Linked DNA regions of Homo sapiens: all the other regions are linked to region 3. The links are contacts of gene promoters, found by promoter capture Hi-C in human tissues and cell types (Jung and others, 2019). All regions are on one chromosome and are shown on one strand. Each heading gives the region's core, a stretch centred on a gene start or on the middle of the fragment in contact. The rest is flanking DNA. Distances are from core to core; before and after follow the strand shown.

Region 1 (3,163 bases), core at 110-2,609, 330 kb after region 3:
ATTTTCAACCCAGAATTTCATATCCAGCCAAAGTAAGCTTCATAAGCGAATGAGAAAGAAAATCCTTTACAGACAAGCAAATGCTGAGGGATTTCATCACCACCATGCCTGCCTTACAAGAGCTCCTGAAGGAAGCACTAAATATGGAAAGGAAAAACTGGTACCAGCCACTGTAAAAACACACCAAAATATAAAGACCAATGACACTATGAAGAAACTGCATCAACTAACATGAAAAATAACCAGCTAGCATCATGATGACAGGATCAAATTCACACATAACAATATTAACCTTAAATTTAAATGGGCTAAATGCCCCAATTTAAAGACATAGACTGGCTAACTGGATAAAGAGTCAAGACCTATCAGTGTGCTGTATTCAGGAGACCTATCTCACATGCAAAGACACATATAGGCTCAAAATAAAGGTATGCAGGAATATTTACCAAACAAATGAAAAGAAAAAAAAAAGCTGGGGTTGCAATCCTAGTCTCTGATAAAATAGACTTTAAACCAAAAAAGATCAAAAAATAAAAAGAAGGGCATTACATAATGGTAAAGGGATCAATGCAACAAGAAGAATTAACTATCCTAAACATATAAGCACCCAATACACGAGTGCCCAGATTCATAAAACAAGTTCTTAGAGATCTACAAAGAGACTTAGACTCCCACACAATAATAGTGGGAGACTTTAACACCCCTCTGTTAATATTAGACAGATCAAGGAGACAGAAAATTAATAAGGATATTCAGGACTTGAACTCAGCTCTGGACCAAGCAGACCTAATGGACATCTACAGTACTCTCCACACCAAATCAACAGAATATAAATTCTTCTCAGTGCCACACAGCACGTATTCTAAAATTGACCACATAATTGGAAGTAAAACGTTCCTCAGCAAATGCAAAAGAATGAAAATCATACCAAACAGTCTCTCAGACCACAGGACAATCAAATTAGAACTCAGGATTAAGAAACGCATTCAAAACCTCACAACTACATGGAAATTGAACAACCTGCTCCTGAATGACTACTGGGTAAATAACGAAATGAAGGCAGAAGTAAATAAGTTCTTTGAAACCAATGAGAACAAAGACACAGTGTATCAGAATCTCTGGGACCAGAATCTAACACAGCTAAAGCAGTGTTAAGAGGTAAATTTATAGCACTAAATACCCACAACAGAAAGCTGGAAAGATCTAAAATCAACACCCTAAAATCACAATTAAAAGAACTAGAGAAGCAAGAGCAAACAAATTCAAAAGCGAACAGAATACAAGAAATAACTAATACCAGAGCAGAACTGAAGGAGATAGAGACACAAAAAACCTTCAAATAATCAATTAATCTAGGAACTGGTTTTTTGAAAAGATTAACAAAATAGATAGACTACTAGCTAGACTAGTATAGAAGAAAAGAGACAAGAATCAAATAGGCACAATAAAAAATGATAAAGGGGCTATTACCACTGATCCCACAGAAATACAAACTACTATAAGAGAATACTATAAACATCTCTATGCAAATAAACTTGAAAATTTAGAAGAAATGAATAAATTCCTGGACACATACACCCTCCCAAGACTAAACCAGGAAGAAGATGAATCCCTGAATAAACCAATAGCAAGTTCTGAAACTGAGGCAGTAATTAACAGGCTACCAACCAAAAAATGCCCAGGCCCAGATGGATTCACAGCTGAATTCTACCAGAGGTACAAAGAGGAGCTAGTACCATTCCTTCTGAAATGATTTCAAACAATAGCAAAAGAGGGACTCCTCCCTAACTCATTTTATGAGGCTAGCATCATCCTGATACCAAAACCTGGCAGAGACACAATAAAAAAAAAAATTTCAGGCCAATATCCCTGATGAACATCAATGCGAAAATCCTCAATAAAATACTGGCAAACCAAATCCAGCAGCACATCAAAAAGCTTATCCACCATGATCAGGTGGGCTTCATCCCTGAGATGCAAGGCTGGTTCAACATACACAAATCAACCAACATAATCCATCACATAAACAGAACCAATGACAAAAACCACATGATTATCTCAATAGATGGAGAAAGGGCCTTTGATAAACTTCAACATCCCTTCATGCTAAAAACTCTTAAAAAACTAGGTATGGATGGAACACACCTCAAAATAATAAGAGCTATTGATGACAAACCCATAGCCAATATCATACTGAATGAACAATAGCTGGAAGCTTTCCCTTTGAAAACCGGCACAAGACAAGGATGCCCTCTCTCACCACTCCTACTCAACATCATATTGTAAGTTCTGGCCAGGGCAATCAGGCAAGAGAAAGGAATAATGTGTATTCAAATAGGAAGACAGGAAGTCAAATTGTCTCTGTTTGCAAATGACATGATTGTATATTTAGAAAACCCCATCATCTCAGCCCAAAAACTCCTTAAGCTGATAAGCAACTTTAGTAAAGTCTCAGGATACAAAATCAATGTGCAAAAATCACAAGCATAGGCCTGGCATGGTGGCTCGTGCCTGTAATCCCAGCACTTTGGGAGGCTGAGGTGGGCAGATCATGGGGTCAAGAGATCGAGACCATCCTGGCCAACATGGTGAAATGCCGTCTCTACTAAAAATACAAAAATTAGCCAGGCATGATGGTGTGTGCCTGTAATCCCAGCTACTCATGAGGCTGAGGCAGGAGAATCGCTTGAACCCAGGAGGCGGAGGTTGCAGTGAGCCAAGGTTGCACCGCTGGACTCCAGCCTGGGTGACAGAGCAAGACTCCGTCTCAAAAACAAAAAGAAACAAAAAAAACACACAAGCATTCCTAAACAACAACAATAGACAAGCGGAGAGCCAAATCATGACTGAAATCTCATTCACAATTGCTACAAAGAGAATAAAATATCTAGGAAAACAACTTACAAGGCATTTGAAGGACCTCTTCAAGGAGAACTACAGACCACTGCTCAAGGAAATGAGAGGACACAAACAAATGGAAAAACATTACATACTCATGGATAGGAAGAATCAATATCATGAAAATGGCCATATTGACCAAAGTAATTTACAGATTCAATGCTATTCCCATCAAGCTACCAGTGACTTTCTTTGCAGAGTTAGAAAAAACTACTTTAAATTTTGTATAGAACCAAAAAAGAGCCCGTATAGCCAAGACAATCCT
Region 2 (2,956 bases), core at 440-2,939, 350 kb after region 3:
AATGCTTCAGCACAAGTGTACTATATGAATCACTATCGATCTGTCTTACAGGAAGACATGAGTAGTGAGGATAAAGGTGAGAACTTCCACTAATGAGAGAGGTTCTCAAACGGGGGGAAAAAGGGAGGAGACCACCCCTCATATTGTCTTATGCCTAGTTTCTGCCTCCAAAGAAAGAAGAAGTGAAAACTGAAAGGCAGAAATGGAATCCACAGGCAGATAGCCCAGCATCATGCCCTGGGCCTGCTAGTTAAAAATCCACCCCTGACCTAACTGCTTGTGTTATCTATAGATTTCAGACATTGTATGGAAAAGCATCATGAAAATCCCTATCCTGTTCTGTTCTGTTCTGACTAGTGGTACATGCAGCCCCCAGTCACATACCCTCTGCTTGCTCAATCAATCATGACCTTTTCAGGCGGACCCCGTTATAGTTGTAAGCCCTTGAAAGGGACAGGAATTGCTCACTCAGGGAGCTCAGTTTTTGGAGATGTGAGTCTTCCAATGCTGCCAGCTGAATAAAGCCCTTTCCTTCTGCAACTCGGTGTCTGAGGGGTTCTTGTCTGTGTCTCATCCTGCTACAACAGAGGTGGGCAGATCACGAGGTCAGGAGTTCCAGACCAGCCTGACCAACATGGTGAAACCCCGTCTCTAGTAAAAATACAAAAATTAGCCAGGCGTGGTGGTGCAAGCCTTTAATCCCAGCTACTCAGGGGGCTGAGGCAGGAGAATCACTTGAACCCGGGAGGCAGAGGTTGTAGTGAGCCAAGATTGCGCCATTGCACTCTAGCCTGGTCGACAGAGCAAGACTCCATCTCAAAAAAATTAAAAATAGGCTGGGTTGGTGGCTCATGCCTGTAATCCCAGCACTCTGGGAGGCTGAGGTGGATGGATCACCTGAGGTCGGGAGTTCGAGACTAGCCTGACCAACGTGAAGAAACCCTATCTCTACTAAAAATACAAAATTAGCCAGGTGTGGTGGAGCATGCCTGTAATCCCAGCTACTCAGGAGGCTGAGGCAGGAGAATCGCTTGAACCCGGGAGGCAGAGGTTGTGGTGAGCCAAGATTGTGCCATTGCACTCCAGCCTGGGCAACAAGAGTGAAACTCTATCTCAAAAAATAATAATAAATAAAAATAATAAAAAATAATAATGAATAAGTAAATAAAATAAAAATAAGGGATAAATATGCAAGGAAATAGCATAAAGAAAAAACAATCAGAACCTCAGGAAATATTGGACACACTTATAAAAATGCAAAATGCTCTGGAAAGTCTCAGCAATAGAATTGAACAAGTAGAAGAAAGAAATTCAGAGATCAAAGACAAGATCTTCAAATTAACACAATCCAGCAAAGACAAAAAAAAATGAACAAAACCTTAAAGAAGCCTGAATAATTGGTTTTTCTGAAAAAGAAGAAAAATCTAAAAGTTTGGAAAACATATTTGGGGAAATAATTGAAGAAAACTTACCTGGTTTTGCCAGAGGCCTAGACATTCAAATACAAAAAGCACAAAGAATACCTGAGAAATTCATCACAAAAAGATCATCACCTAATCACATTGTCATCAGGTTATCTAACGTTAAGATGAAGGAAAGAATCATATCATATATACATATATATATATACACATCATATATATATATCATCATATACACACACACACACACACACACACACACACACAATGGAATACTACTCAGCCATAAAAAGGAATGAATTAACATTTGCAGTGACCTGGATAACATTGGAGACTATTATTCTAAGTGAAGTCACTCAGGAATGGAAAATCAAACATTGAATGTCCTCACTGAGATGTGGGAGCTAAGCTATGAGGACACAAAGGCATAAGAATGATGCAATGGACTTTGGGGATGTTGGGGAAAGAGTAGGAGGGGGATGAGGGATAGAGACTACCAATATGGTGCAGTGTATACTGCTCTACTGCTCAGGTGATGGGTGCAACAAAATCTCACAAATCACCACTAAAGAACATACTAATGTAACCAAATACCACCTGTAGCCCAGTAACTTATGGGGAAAAAAAAGAGACTTAAAAAAATATATATATATACAAAAATTAGCCAGGCATAGTGGTGCATGCCTGTAGTCCCAGCTACTTGGGAGGCTGAGGGGAGAATCACTTTAACCTGGGAGGCGGAGGTTGCATTGAGCCAAAATTGTGCCATTGCACTCCAGCCTGAGCCACAGAGTGAGACTCTGTCTCAAAAAATATATATAAAAAATAAAACTAGTAATCCAGGCAAAACAAAAATGAATTATACATTATGAAAATACTCTGCCACATTTTTATACTAAATCAGCCAGTACTGAAATTTTTTAGATGTGCCATTTGAGTAAACTGTGTGTTCCAAGTCAGATTACCTATGATAACCTCTCAGTTATCAGTGCTATGAACCTAAATTGAAGAAACAAACTTGATATTTAAGAGGACATAAATTTAATGTTAAGTGTGAACTCATAGAGAACCTAGACAGCAGTGACTTTTTTCATTCCTGAGTTCTTAAAGCTTCCTTTATCAAAAGCACTGCATTTTATCACTCGCCACAGAAGAGATAAAAAATAGTCTAAGTTGGCGGGGCACAGTGGCTCATGCCTGTAATCCCAGCACTTTCAGAGGCCGAGGTGGGCAGATCACCTGAGGTCAGGAGTTCAAGACCAGCCTGACCAACACGGAGAAACTCTGTCTCTACTAAAAATACAAAATTAGCTGGGTGTGGTGGTGCACTCCTGTAATCCCAGCTACTTGGGCGGCTGAGGCAGGAGAATCACTTGAACCTGGGAGGCAGAGGTTGCAGCGAGCTGAGATGGTGCCATTGCAGTCCAGCCTGGGCAATAAGAGTGAAACTCCATCTCAAAAAAATACATAATAATAATCTAAGTTAAATATAAATTAAATGTGTGTGTGTGTGTGTGTGTGTGTGTGTGTGTGTG
Region 3 (2,862 bases), core at 241-2,740:
GAGAAAACCCGTCTCTACTAAACACCAAAATTAGCCGGGCGTGATGGTGCATGCCTGTAATCCCAGCTACTGGTGGGGCTGAGGTAGGAGAATCGCTTGAACCCAGTAAGCCGAGATCACGCCATTACATTCCAGCCTGGGCACCACAAGCGACACTGTGTCTAAAAAAAAAAAAAAAAAAAAAAAAATACCCTGTTGCAGGCTTAATATTAGCCTTAGCTTGGAGTCACTAGGTTCAAGCTTTAATGTCCACATCAGTTATTCACTTGGTTTTTGAAACTAAGTGTTAGAAACTCCAGTGAAATTACTCACAATGTTTACATAAAGGAATTTTTAAGATGCTTACTTTTTTTTTCTTTTTTTTGAGCCGGAGTCTCGCTTTGTCACGCAGGCTGGAGCGCGATGATTGGATCTCAGCTCACTGCAACTTCCGCCTCCCGGGTTCAAGCAATTCTCGTGCCTCAGCCTCCCAAGTGGCTGGTACTACAGGCACGTGCCAACACGCCGATAGTTTTCGTATTTTTAGTAGAGACGGGTTTCACCACGTTGGCCAGGCTGGTCTAGAACTCCTGACCACGTGATCCACCTGCCTCGGCCTCCGAAGTGCTGGGATTACAGGCTTGAGCCACCGCGCCCAGCAAGAAAGGGGTTTTGAACCCTAATGCAGTTCCTGTTTTTGTTTCCATCCCCTATTGGCTGGGATCAGACCGCACAATCTAAGCTGATCCTGGTAAGCTTAGACCCAAACTTTTTCCAAATAAAGTAAATGCGCGATTTGCGAGAAAAGGAAAAGGGGGTAGAAGAAGAGGTAGGGTTGATTTACAACTTTTACAACTTATGACCAGAAAGTTGAGTCATTTAAAAGGAACTTAGTTGTCCTAACACCTCTTTACCTCAAGTGATCCGCCCGCCTCGGCCTCCCAAAACGTTGGGATTACAGGCGTGAGCCACAGCGTCCGGCCCCATACATTTTTAATAGGAGAAAAGAGAAACTGTAAACCCAAAGGAACAAAGCTCTTCCCATTCATGAACCCGCACCCCGAGTCAGGATTCTCCCCTGCCCACCCTCCCCTGGTCCCTGCACAATCTGGGAGAGACGCCACGCTGCGGGTGCAGAGCTGCCCAGAGAGGGCTCCAGGCCAGGGTAGTCACCGCGCAGTGAAGAGACAAGACGCCCGGGTGCCGGCTGTCAGCGCAGCTGCCATTTTATGGCTGAACAGGACTGAGGCCGAGCTGAGCAAGGAGAACTGGGGGAGCAGACTGTGGAGCTGACTGCGGGGAGGCCTGAGTCCCGCCACAGCCACTTTTCACCGGTTCCAACCAGTCCCTCTCCTCTCTCGGGATGTCGGACCCTCACTCTCACCATTTTTGGCTTCCAGGAGGTCCCGGTGTCTTAGCTGTGGATCTCCCAATACCTGCAGGACACGGGGCCACACAGCCTGGGCCTTTAGGAGAAGAACCAGACCTGGAGCTCTGACTGCAGCGAGAGACAAAGGCCGCACCAAACCCGGAAACCGTCCTCTTCGCTCCAGCTGCGTTCCTGATTGGATGGTTTCCAGCCCACCATCCCTGATTGGATAATGCTTAAGGCCCCGCCCCCTGAGGCCCTGAGTGACAGTAGATGTGATCAGACGCTGAGCTGAGTGAAGAAAGAGTGACAGCCTAAGCTGCAGCCTTTTCAGGCAGGGCTTCCTTCCTGAGCTGAGCCAGGCCCACCCCAGAGCATGGGAGAATTCTATCTTTTCTTTACTCTCTCTCTTTTTGAATGTATTCAAAAGGTGAACAGAAGTATTTTGCTCTCATATTAATAATACATAAAATTTTTGTTCAAGAGAAAATCAACTTTTACTTTGGCAATAATGTATTATCAATACTAAAGGTAATTTTGATAAAACCTTATAAAAAATCAAATTTGTCATTTTTGACCTCTCGAGATTTACATACATATTTTGTAATCTAATGTAATTTTTTAACTTTTTATATTTTATTTTTATCTACATTCTTTTTATTTTTTCAATTTGAAACAACCTTTAAGTAATTTCAAACTGTTACAAGAGACAAAGAAATCATTTAGGGCCAGTCCGCTGGTGCACGCTTGTAATCCAAGCACTTTGGGAGGCCAAAGTGGGTGGATCACTTCAGGTCAGGAGTTCAAGACCAGCCTGGCCAACATGTTGAATCTCATCTCTAGTAAAAACACAAAAAATTAGCCAGGTGTGGTGGTACACACCTGTAGTCCCAGGTGCTACGGCGGCTGAAGCAGGGGAATCGCTTGAACCCAGGAGGCGGAGGTTGTGTAACGGCCTAAGGGCTTCATCTTGCCTAGACAGAGATGATTCATCAAGACAGGGGAATTTGTGGAGGAAAAGTTAAATATTAAATTTGAACTCAGTTGAACATGGACACAAACAATGGTCACCAAGTCCTGGAACAGGTTATGTGAGCCCCTTGAGGCATTCACCTGCCGACCTTCCCCTGGTCCCTGCACAATCTGGGAGAGACGCCATGCTGCAGGTGCAGAGCTGCCCAAAGTGGGCTCCAGGCCAGGGCACAGTCACAGCGCAGTGAAGAGGCAGGACTTCTGGGGGCCTGGCTGTCAGCGCAGCTGCCATCTTCTGGCTGAATGGGACTGAGGCCAAGCTGGGCAAAGAGAACTGGGCACAGATTGTTTTGGAGAAATCTCTATTTTAATCTATTCCTATACGTTAGTTATTGAAAAACAATAGCCAATCGCAAAAAAAACAAGTTGACTTTTTTGTGTTCCTTGAGCCCAGTTGCAAAGAGCCCAGTTGCAACTGGGCCTCATGCCAAACAACTTGTTACAAAAAGAGCTAGGATCCCAGACTGCACCAAAGCTCCAAA

What was found. The method cuts DNA at HindIII sites, captures the fragments that hold promoters and counts their contacts. A contact is called where the count stands out against the background at its distance.
Region 1: a fragment that was not itself captured here is called in contact with the fragment with the promoter of ZNF626 in region 3 in 1 of the 25 tissues and cell types used here (dorsolateral prefrontal cortex).
Region 2: a contact is called between a fragment that was not itself captured here and the fragment with the promoter of ZNF626 in region 3, in 1 of the 25 tissues and cell types used here (hippocampus).

What each region holds. Positions count from the first base shown.
Region 1 is chr19:20,990,051-20,993,213 of GRCh38, forward strand. No RefSeq gene overlaps it. Among named protein-coding and RNA genes, the nearest start is that of ZNF430, 29 kb to the right of the region's middle. The HindIII fragment of the contact is 4,218 bases long and covers 1-3,163 here.
Region 2 is chr19:21,010,007-21,012,962 of GRCh38, forward strand. No RefSeq gene overlaps it. Among named protein-coding and RNA genes, the nearest start is that of ZNF430, 9.2 kb to the right of the region's middle. The HindIII fragment of the contact is 6,310 bases long and covers 1-2,956 here.
Region 3 is chr19:20,660,081-20,662,942 of GRCh38, forward strand. It overlaps ZNF626 (zinc finger protein 626), which reads right to left and starts at 1,491. Exons shown (of 4, transcript NM_001076675.3): 1 at 1,364-1,491. The coding sequence starts at 1,366. RefSeq lists a silencer at 1,616-1,685. The HindIII fragment of the contact is 1,409 bases long and covers 488-1,896 here.